Linked DNA regions of Homo sapiens: regions 1 and 2 are each linked to region 3. Evidence: promoter capture Hi-C in 16 types of primary human blood cells and fetal thymus (Javierre and others, 2016). All regions are on one chromosome and are shown on one strand. Each heading gives the region's core, a stretch centred on a gene start or on the middle of the fragment in contact. The rest is flanking DNA. Distances are from core to core; before and after follow the strand shown.

Region 1 (3,762 bases), core at 1,130-3,629, 1.1 Mb after region 3:
ATAACCTTGTTCTTTATTCAAAGAGCAGCAGATACCCACTGCTTGGCTAGACCCTTTTATCAGCATCAGAGAGGTGGGTCCCAGCTGACAAAGTAGCTTCTAGACAATTCAACAGCATATTTTTAATTCTACAGCTGCTCCTTTGATAAAAAAAGGAAACAGAGAGCCATGGGACAATTTATTGTCTCACCGGTGTTACTTCAGCCTACAGAGTCCTGTGACAAGCGTATGTCAAGATAGGAGTTTGGCAAATAGAAACACCTTTCATCAGAGCCTTTGGGATGGAGAAGCACGGGGCTGAGCTGAGGTTGTGGTGTTTCCCTTCATTTCTTCCTGAGAGCCACCTTTCTGTCCCCAAAGACAGGGACCAGGTCCTGAAGGCAAGGATGGGTATTACTCTGTTTGTACGTCTTATGGGGCACTGTGGTGATGGCTTTATATGCATTATCTCATTAATTTTTGGAACATTATTCATAAAATTGGTATAATTAAACTCTTTCTAAAGCTAAGGAAACAGATTTAGAGTAACAGTGGTTTTATTGGGTGGTCTAGCTAATAAACTGCAGAATGAGAACTCGAACCCAGGTCTGCAGGAATTCAATAATGTGTGCTCCAGACACGCATTGCTGTGGACAATAATGATGGACTTCCCAGTTAAACTAAGAGACAAAGCTGAGCATGCAGCCTGTAGGACATAGGGCTCATGACCAAGAGTTGGGAGAACAGAATCTTGTGTTGGCTCCAAGTAAATATCATATACATCTGTTGACTCATGGGACATGTGGCACCAGGAGTCCCTGCAGAGGATGCATGCCTTCTCTGTTTACAGGGTCCTGGCAGGAACACTTGCTGCAGTAGGAGGAGCAGGCCCTGAGCAAACCCAGATATTTCCAGGTGTCTGCCCAGGGGAGAATTGGTGCAGAGGACCCCAATTGTGCATCCAGACTCCTGACAGCACTGAGGGCGATGTCCAAAGACAGAGATTTAGGTGAGCACGAGAGAACAAGTCAGAAAGTGAGCAAACCTCTTTCTCCCACGTCGATCCTTTTCCATTACAGTCTGGGATTCTTTCAAGACCAGGGCAAGAATGTGGCCTCTCTGTGAAGTTGAACGGTGGCTCCTTGTCTGCACGTGCCCTGATGAGAGCGAGAGGCCCCAGGCTGAGCCTGGGCTATGCAGGAGCATGCTAGATGCCTGGGAGAGGCACAAGGTGCTTTGCCTGGCAAAAGCTGGCTTTCGTTTTTTGCCTTAGACTCTTTTCTGTGAGGTTAGATCTTCAGCACTGCTGAAAAAGATTGATTGCCAGACAGATCCCATTCTCAGGCCATGAGCCGGTGGAGGCTCTGGAGGCTTAGACAAATTGATGATCCAGGAACCCGGGGTGTGGGGCTTGAGATATGTGTGCAAGAGCAGGCCAGGATCTGCAAAGACAAGAGAGACCTAGCATTATTCCCCAGCAGCAAAATGGGCCACACATGTGAGGGGGCAGGAGCTTCATTATCTCCATCAGACAAGGTTCAAAATCCTCTATGAAAATCACCAGTATTTCCCTCACTGTCATCCTGCTTCCCAAAGGCCAACAGTCCAAAAATGCAGTTACTTGGACCTGATCCTGAGTTTTTTCAGGCCTGGGGCTTCCTAAGATCACCGGGTAGGTCCTGCCTCTGGCCAGACCCAGATCCCAGGCTGGAGGGGACAGGAGAATGTAGTTCAAGAAGTACAGAAGCCAGGAGCTATCAGATAAGGTCTCTCTAAGGCCTGAAAACCAAGCCATTTCACCCTCATGGAATAAGAACCAGTGTTAGGATCACAGAATCATGAACATTGAAAGTGGAAGGAACCCAGGCTCAGCTCCCTGTAGATCTAGAGTCAGAAGATTCAATTTCAAGTCTGATTTCTGCCTCTCACCAGTGGGTGACTTTGGCTGCATCACCAGCCTCTCTGAGCCTCTTTGTCTCCACCTACAAAGTGGGGTTGTGGTGCCCCCTTGCAGGCCCACTGTGAGCATAGGGCAAGTGCATGTCCGGGTCAGCCAGAACCCCTGGCATGTGGTGGGTGGCTGATGCACACCAGCTTTTATCACTGCTGTCTGTGAAGACGGACTGACCACACAGTCACATGCTTCATTTGAAGCAGATTTCAGTTGGCTCAGATAGTCAGAAGAAAATAACTCTTCCATCATAAGGCATTATTCTAGATGGGTCTACTTTATGTGCAGCCCTAGGAGCTCACCCCGCTCATGCCAGAATCCCTGGCTTATGCTTGGATCAGCTACAGTGAAGCCTGGGGAACTGGGGGTATTTGAAGGGAGTATGGGGAAGTTACTATGGAAAAGTAACAATATCAATAGATAACGTTCACTAAGCATCTGCTAGATATAAGGTGGTTTTCCACGTGTTTTTCCTACGTGTGGTGACTATTCAGTAGTACAATTATTATTCCCATTTCACAGATGGAGAGTGAGGCCTGGAGTATGGGTCATGAGCAGCAGATCTGGGTTTCAGCCCCAGGCATTCTAGCTGCAGAGCCTGTGCCCTGAGCCCTGCCCTGTACTGCATGTGAGCCCTCCTACCAGGTTTCCTACCCTCGGGCTGATGGGATTCTTAATAACGAGATCTTTCTATAGAAAACAGGGAGCTGAAAGAACAATAGGGTATGCTGAGGCAAGAGCCCTGGTAGCAGGGCCCAGAGGTGTCAGAGGGGTCTGGAGACAGAGAACCAGCGAGGGGGAGGATGCCCCAAAGCAAAGGGATGGAGACTTGGTGGGAACATGTGGGGGACATGGGTTGGCTGGAGAGAGGGTTATGAAGAGAAAAGCATGATTGTATTTTAGCTTTAAGCAGCAGAAGAGCTGCTTACTGGGATGACCATTTTAAAAATTTGTCCGGATAAGTCTTGGACAAACCTCTGGAATCATCAGTTCCTGAAGCCATGAAAGCCCAGCATGAGTAGCTGAGTCAGGTCCTTCAGTCAGTGCATTGCACAATGCCTTGTCAGAGAGGAAGAAAGTTACAGCTCTGGAATCCATCTGCAGTGTCTTCTTAAGGATGCAGATGCATTTTTAAATTAGCTTTTAGACAAATAACCATAAGGGATGAAGCAGTGAGGGTAAACGAACCTTATGAAATTGTCAGTGGCTCTCTGGCAGTGCAGCCCCTAGGACCTCACGGTCTCTGGGAGTGCTGGGATGAGCCATAGCATTTTCCACTCTCTGCCAATGGCCGCCCCAGGCAATGCCAGGAGCTAGAATAGCACTGCAGGAAACACCAGGAGAGTCACTCTTTCACAAGCCAGAGAAAGACTGGAACACCATATTTTGCAGTCTGGAGATTTTTTGAGTAGAATTGCATCTTAGCCTTCCCATACAGAGGAGTATTTACTCTTTCTTTTAAAGTTTTCATAAAGAGAAACCAGACAATCTTCTCTCTGTAGTATCACATCCCTTGTAATTAAATAGCTGTTGTGTTTGTTTGTATTGACTTCCTTTGGCTCTTGTCTATTAAAAACAGAGTGCAGATAAAAGAAGATCATTCTTGGAGCCAAAATTTACTGGTTGCATGACCCACTGAAGTTTTCGTAGGACTTTCTGAACCTCAGTTTTCTCATCTGTAAAATTAGAGCACTGGCTTGTTTTATAGTGTTAGAGGCCCATAAGAAATTTGTAAGCACAAATGAGACAGACTTGTGTACACAAGAATAATTACACAACCTGAGTAGCAGACGGCAGATGCCCAGTGCCAAAGACTCACCCTGACTACAGGC
Region 2 (3,560 bases), core at 540-3,039, 1.1 Mb after region 3:
CCCCATGGCCCCCCAGCCTGGCCTGTTTCCCCTGGGAGGCCTCCCCATGGGCAGGACATGCTATGTGCTTCTCATGCCTGATGGGGCTGCTCATGCAAGCCCAGGTGAAGTGATGGGTGATGGAACCTGGGAGGGATGGTGTGAGTCCTTATGCTTCTTGCCCTGGTGCTCAACAATTCTCCTTGGGACCCAAGTGGCCCCAGATGTTGGCATGCATCAGGAAGGATCCAAGAACAGCTGGGCTGGCCCGATGGTCTACCTCATGGGTTTCAGGGCACTGAGAGCTGGCCAGTCACATTCCCATGGCAGCCCAACAAGGCCCAGCAGAGGGGTGGGTGGTGGGATGGCAGGGCTTGTAGGGCAGAGCATTCTGATGGGCCAGGGCCTAGTTTGAGTAGGGCTGCTCTGTGGGCCTATATCCACAGGCATTGCTGTGGCTTTGGCCAAGACCTCTGGGCTCCCTGAACATCAGGCAGCCTCTCCTCCTTTAGGGAAGATGGACAGTTACCCCTGAGCAGGGCCATGCGGGGCAAAGCACAATGGTGGTTGTGAAGTTTTTTCAGAGACAAGATGCTGTAACCACAACACGTGTGGATTTCCACTGCAGGAGCACCCAGTGCCATGTTAAAAGACATGTGAGTTTGGAGTTTATGTGGGTATGGTATTGGCTTAGTGGTTTCTCCCCATCTTTTTTGTCTACTTTTCTCTTTGTCTACCTGCTTGCCATGAGCCTGAGGGCAGGGCCTGAATCCAGCAGCACCAGAACCCAGGTGGCCTGGCTCTCCAATAAATGGAAAAGAAAGCTGGGTGGAAATATGGAGGACAATGGTAAAGGCCTGGATTACAACTGAGTATAGACAGATCTGAAGTGGCCAGTGTCCAGGTGCTGAACTTATAATAGTCCATCCTATGCGGCTTAGCGATTCCAGCCATCAGCCATTCCTGGTCCCTGCTCTGCCTGCCTGCAGACACCAGGCTCCCCACAAGGCACTTTCCCACTGCCCTTGATCTCAGGGCATTCATGTCTCCCTGCTCTATTCGGAAACTATCCTGCACAGACCACAGCTAAGCACACCACTACCATAAGAGTCTAGCTGCATTTCTCTCTGGCCCCAACTCTGGCCCTCACTCCTCATTCTGGTTTCCTCTCTTTAACCTCTGAGCCTCTGCACTTGCTGTTCCTCTTGCCGAGCACACCCTTCCTCTCCATTCCACATAGTACAATCTTACTCATGCATCAAGCCTGAACACAGGAGGATGGCTCCGACCACTCGGTGAGTTCCCACTTCTCTAAATTCCTGTTATTAGATCACCAGTCCTCTTACTTTGTCCTCAATTGTAGTTGGACATGATTGATTTAAACGACAGAGGCATTTGTCTGGCTTCGTCTCTGAGACTGCCATCTCCCTGTAGACAGGGAGCAAACGTTGTGCATCTTCTATGTGTCTCCGCAGCTTGCATGGTGTTGGCAAGTAACCGAGACTGGCATGTGCATTGAGGTGGATGGGCGAGCAGGCCAAACACCGCTCCCAGGAAGATGGAGAAGATAGGCAGAAAGGCGGCAAGGATGCAAGACAGAGAAAAGCTTGGGGTGAAAAAATCCTACCTAGGTGCAGGTGCTGGGGCTGCAGACCCTAGAGCTTCTCAAAGGCAACTTGATGTTTTATAGTTCCATCCAGTCTCCAGCATCACCGTGTGGCCGCAGCATCTGTGGTATCCAAGCGACTTTATCCCTGGGGGAGTATGGGCATCTCCCTGGGAGGGTGTCCACAGGAGGACGTCAGGGCTCTGTGGGTGGCCTGGCATCTGGGGTCTGGGGATCGTGCTTGGAAGGAATCAGATAATGCCTGGAATCCAAGGCTTGACTCCTCCTTGTCTCCTAAGAGCTCCTTGGGAGTTGGGCTCCCGTTAAGTGGTTTTTGACCCCAGTTTTCCTGATTCTCAGATTCATCTGGCATGGAGGCTGGGTAGCTTTTCTGCATTCTGAAGCTTTCTTCCCACTGGCAGTGAGTTTATGGGAGTGCTTCTGTGCTGTTGTTCTATTTTTTACAGGAAAGGTTGAGTGACACTTCGAGGACAGGGCACACAGGCTGCCTTTGGGCCAGTTCCCAGCCAACAGGAAGTCACAGCTGGCTTTTGAGTTGGGAAGAGCTGGATTTCATTTTCATGTGACCCTGAGTCTGTTTCCTTATCCAGAAAACAGAGAGAACAATGGAATCCAGCTAACAGGGTTGGAGTGGGGAGGGATGGCTTACAGCAGAGCCTACCCGGGGACAGGCATGGCTGTGCTGGAGTGGCTGAAGCCACCTCACTCCTCTGAGCCTCAGCTCTCATCTGTAGAATGCTGCATCCTTAGGTCTGTCCCAGCTCCATTCCAGTCAGTCATGATGTGCTGATGGGCACCTCCCTGGCCAGGCGACCATCCATGGCTCAGCAGCCCAGCATAGGAACAGGTGTGTCTAAGAGCTTGGTGGGGCAGAGCCCACGTGCTCCCCCTTCACCGCCTTCCCCATCCCCAAAGGTCTCTGCACAGAGGCAGGTAAGCATATTTGGGAACAGAATAAAAGAGCAATCAAGGATTCTTTTGGGATCTGTGAATGACGGTAGTAACAGTTATTAAGCTCCTACTGTGTGCCAGAGAATTCTAGGAGACACTCCATGTGTGATAAATAACAGGACTCACAAGAGCCCCATGAAGGGCTGCTGTTGCCTGCGTTCTGTGGAAGTGGAAATTGAGCTTTAGAAGAATGAGCTGATCTGCCCATGACACACAGCTGGCAGGCAGAAGCGGAACCTGAGCCGACACCACCTGTGCAGACCCCAGGGCCTCTCACCTGCCCTCCCTAACCCAGAGGGATCTTCTTTATTTCAGCAGAGCCAGTGCATGGCACATGTGGATGGTGGGTCTCACCCCACATCCTCTGGGACATCGGCAAGAGACAGGAGTGACTTGGTGGGTGAGGGGCTGGCATGAACACCTAGCACAGTGTGGGGCAGGAGGGCAGGGCACTGCAGGACCTTGTGATGGGCAGCAGGGGCACAGCTTCCTCGGTGCCCTGTCCATTCATTTATCACTCAGCCATCTTCCGAGTGTCTGCTGGCAATGTGTCATCTGCCAGGCATCGTCTGATTCTCCTGGGTCTGACTGCAGACAGACTGTGCTGCCCTGGGAGCACGTGTCCCAAAGCAAGCCCATGGGAGAGGAGGGGTGACACCAATTTTTGCCCCACCCAGCCTGTTCCTCCTTCCCCTGAGCCCTGACCTGTCCTTCTCCAGGGGAGCCCCTGGCCTCCAGTCCCCTTCACCCAGACAACTCCGCAGCTCATTCTCCTTTCCAGGGCCCTCTGAGGATAAGCAACACAGGCTGTGTGCACTGAGATGAGAACTTCTGACCCTTTCTCCTCCTTTCCCTGGAGATCTAATTTAAAAGGTCTGGAGCAGGAGCCTGGGGGTCAGCGCATGGATTTTTGAAGGGCCAGTGAAGGTGCTGCCCTCTGGGCTTCTCTGGCAGCCTGCCTGGCCCCCTGTGCCTCTCCCCTCCTCCCCTCCCCTGTAACTGC
Region 3 (3,392 bases), core at 675-3,174:
GGAGGCTGAGGCGGGTGGATCACCTGAGGTGAGGAGGGTGCAGTGAGCCAAGATCATGCCACTGCACTCCAGCCTGGGCAATGCAGCGAGACTCCATCTCAAAAAAAAAAAAAAAATACAGACTCCCTATGTACAATATGCTAATAATTTATCAGTAATCTTTATAATTTATATTCAACTTCCAAAACAACTAAAAGTGATTAACAAAAAGTATTTGCCATTAATATCATCTAACCTTTGGTCTTTTCAAAATATTAACATACACTCATGTATAGTGTTATGAAAAAATTGTGTTTAATAATGCAACCCACAAAAGGAAAATGAAAAGTATTAAATTAAAATGCATTATTTTATTACTAAATTTTCAAAAATCTATAAGAGGTCCTAAGCACAACTGTTATAAAGATATGGCCCCGTTAACGAGCACAGATTAGATTTCAGCAAGCACAGTAAAGTCATAACACTAAAATTCCACTTTTAAAACAATCCTTGCCTTACTAGCTAGCTGACCCAAGTATGTATACTACCCCAACACTAGAACTGCTAAAGATCTTAAAACCTATGACACCTATATGTAATAAAGATGTAAAAGACACCACTTAATTAAAATGTATGCAGAATGTATCCTGAGGTATTACTCTAAAGCAACAATTACAACATATATTCAAAGCCTTCCATTTCAGTACATATAGATTTGAAAATTCATTTTATTATGCAATGATGGCATAAACTATTAAATCACACTGCTCTATACTCTTGTTTCAACGAAGACTAGGAAAAGGCAGATCAGGCCGAGCGCGGTGGCTCACACCTGTAATTCCAGCACTCTGGGAGGCCGAAGTGGGCGGATCACCTGAGGTCAGGAGTTCGAGACCAGTCTGGCCAACATGACAAAACCCCGTCTCTACTAAAAATACAAAAATTAGCCGGGCCTGGTGGCACGCGCCTGTAATCCCAGCTACTTGGGAGGCTGAGGCAGGAGAATCACTTGAACCTGGGAGGTGGAGGTTGCAGTGAGCCGAGATCACACCACTGCATTCCAACTGGGCAACAGGGTGAGCCTCTGACTCAAAAAAAAAAAAAAAAAGAAAAGAAAAGAAAAAGGCAGATCACACGGGTTAACATTTTTAAATGTAAACTAAAGCTTAACGTTTTTAACATTTCTGAAATGGTCTAATGTCTAAAACCTCAACGTTAATACTTGTGTGCTCACAGGAAACCAAACATTGTATTCAGTAGGAAAGAGGAGTTGAACAGCTTATCTAAGAAACCACTTGTTCTTCAATTAGCTTTCATCTTGCTCTGGTCTTTTATTTTGTTTGCACTGCAGTTTTCCTCATAAATAATAAAAAGATCACACGTATTCAGTCAGGTAAGAAAGATCCTCTCGCTCTTATTTTAAGGAGCAATCGTCCTCTACTCCCCAACCCATGTCAAGGAGAGTCCAAAGGAATGGGACCCCTACTCTGATCCAGGACACCTCTTGGCCTGACCCATCTTCGGTGCCGGTTGGCCTGACCCATCTTCGGTGCCGGAGGTTGACACCCGCCCACCTTGGGCCTCCTCGCCTCCCTCCCGTAGAGCCTTCAGCCTACAACTCGGACCCGCGCCCGCCGGAACCTACGGGGGCGCCCGCGCGGGAGCCACCCCGCCCCCAGCCCGCCGGCGCGCGGCCGACGCGCGAGCACGACCCGCCAACCCGACGGCCGCCGGGGCCTCGGCGCCGGTCCCACCCGGTCCCAGGCTACGCTCTGCGGAGAGCGCGGCATTCGAGACAGCGCACTCGGGCTTCTCCCGCACGGTCAGCGCTCGGGCGCCAGCAGCAGACGGAGGGGCAGAGCCGGGTCGGAGCGGAAAATCACGCAGCCCGGCCCGGGAACCGACCTGTGGAGACCGCCATCTTCTCCTGCAGCCCGACGCAGCCGCCCGCACGCACGCACGAACCGTCGCGCGTCACTTCCGGGAGCGCGCCGCCCTGCACGCGTCACAGCGGACTCCGCCCCCGGCGGGCGCGGGGCGACCCGAGGGACAGCGCGCACGTGGGCCGAGGGGTCGCGGGGCCTCGCTGCTGTTTCCGCAATTCCCTTGTGAATCCCGCTCTCAAAATGAAACGCTAAAGAATAAGTTCATGAGGGCCGGGCGCGGTGGCTCACGTCTGTAATCCCAGCACTTTGGGAGGCCGAGGCGATCGGATCACCCGAGGTCAGGAGTTCGAAACCAGCCTGGCCAACATGGCGAAACCCCGTCTCTACTAAAAATACAAAAATTAGCCGGACGTGGTGGCGCGCGCCTGTAATCCCAGCTATTTGGGAGGCTGAGGCACGAGAATCGTTTGAACCGGGGAGGCGGAGGGGCAATGAGCCGCGATTGCGCCACTGCACTCCAGCCTGGACAACAGAGCGAGACTCCGCCTCAAAAAAATAAATAAAAATAAGTGGGCATTGACAGATTTGCGTTGATAAACGATTCAAAAGAGTTGGACAATAAATTTGAACAGCTAGGGATGCTGAGGTGGGAGGGTCACGTGAGCCCAAGAGGTGAGGCTGCAGTGAGCAGAAATCGCTGCACTCCAGCCTGGGCAACAGAGGGAGACTCCATTTCAAAAAAAAAAAAGAAAGAAAGAAAAAGGAAAGTAATACAGGCTGGGCGCCGAAGCTCACTTCTGTAATCCTAACACTTTGGGAGGCTGAGGCAGGAGGATGGCTTGAACCCAAGACTTTGAGACCAGCTTGGACAACATAGTGATACCTAGTCTCTACATAAAACTGAAAAAAAAAAAAAAAAAAGATTTTTCACATCCCTTGTAGGTTGTATTCCTAGGTATTTTTATTCTCTTTGTAGCAATTGTGAATGGGAGTTCACTCATGATTTGGCTCTCTGTTTGTCTGTTATTAGTGTATAGGAATGCTTGTGATTTTTGCACATTGATTTTGTATCCTGAGACTTTGCTGAAGTTGCTTGTCAGCTTAAGAAGATTTGGGGCTGAGACTATGGGGTTTTCTAAATATACAATCATGTCATCTGCAAACAGAGACAATTTGACTTCCTCTTTTCCTAATTGAATACCCTTTATTTCTTTCTCTTGCCTGATTGCCCTGGCCAGAACTTCCAATACTATGTTGAATAGGAGTGGTGAGAGAGGGCATCTTTGTCTTGTGCCGGCTTTCAAAGGGAATGCTTTTGGCCGGGCATGGATCCCAGCACTTTGGGAGGCGGAGGCGGGCGGATCACGAGGTCAGAAGATCAAGACCATCTTGGCTAACACAGTGAAACCCTGTCTCTACTAAAAAAAAAAAAATACAAAAAATTAGCCAGGCATGGTGGCAGGCCCCTGTAGTCCCAGCTACTCGGGAGGCTGAGGCAGGAGAATGGCGTGAACCCGGGAGTTGGAG

Evidence for each region. Contacts are between HindIII fragments. The CHiCAGO score rates a contact against its expected background, and 5 or more counts as called.
Region 1: a contact is called between a fragment that was not itself captured here and the fragment with the promoter of UBE2V2 in region 3, in 1 of 17 cell types (total B cells). The highest score is 5.4, in total B cells.
Region 2: a contact is called between a fragment that was not itself captured here and the fragment with the promoter of UBE2V2 in region 3, in 1 of 17 cell types (total B cells). The highest score is 5.4, in total B cells.

The regions. Positions count from the first base shown.
Region 1 is chr8:46,904,066-46,907,827 of GRCh38, reverse strand. No RefSeq gene overlaps it. Among named protein-coding and RNA genes, the nearest start is that of LINC00293, 65 kb to the right of the region's middle. The HindIII fragment of the contact is 7,035 bases long and covers 1-3,762 here.
Region 2 is chr8:46,921,015-46,924,574 of GRCh38, reverse strand. No RefSeq gene overlaps it. Among named protein-coding and RNA genes, the nearest start is that of LINC00293, 82 kb to the right of the region's middle. The HindIII fragment of the contact is 404 bases long and covers 1,588-1,991 here.
Region 3 is chr8:48,006,963-48,010,354 of GRCh38, reverse strand. UBE2V2 (ubiquitin conjugating enzyme E2 V2) reads right to left here and starts at 1,924. Exons shown (of 4, transcript NM_003350.3): 1 at 1,885-1,924. The coding sequence starts at 1,900. RefSeq lists silencers at 1,529-1,728, 1,959-2,218. The HindIII fragment of the contact is 2,629 bases long and covers 1,147-3,392 here.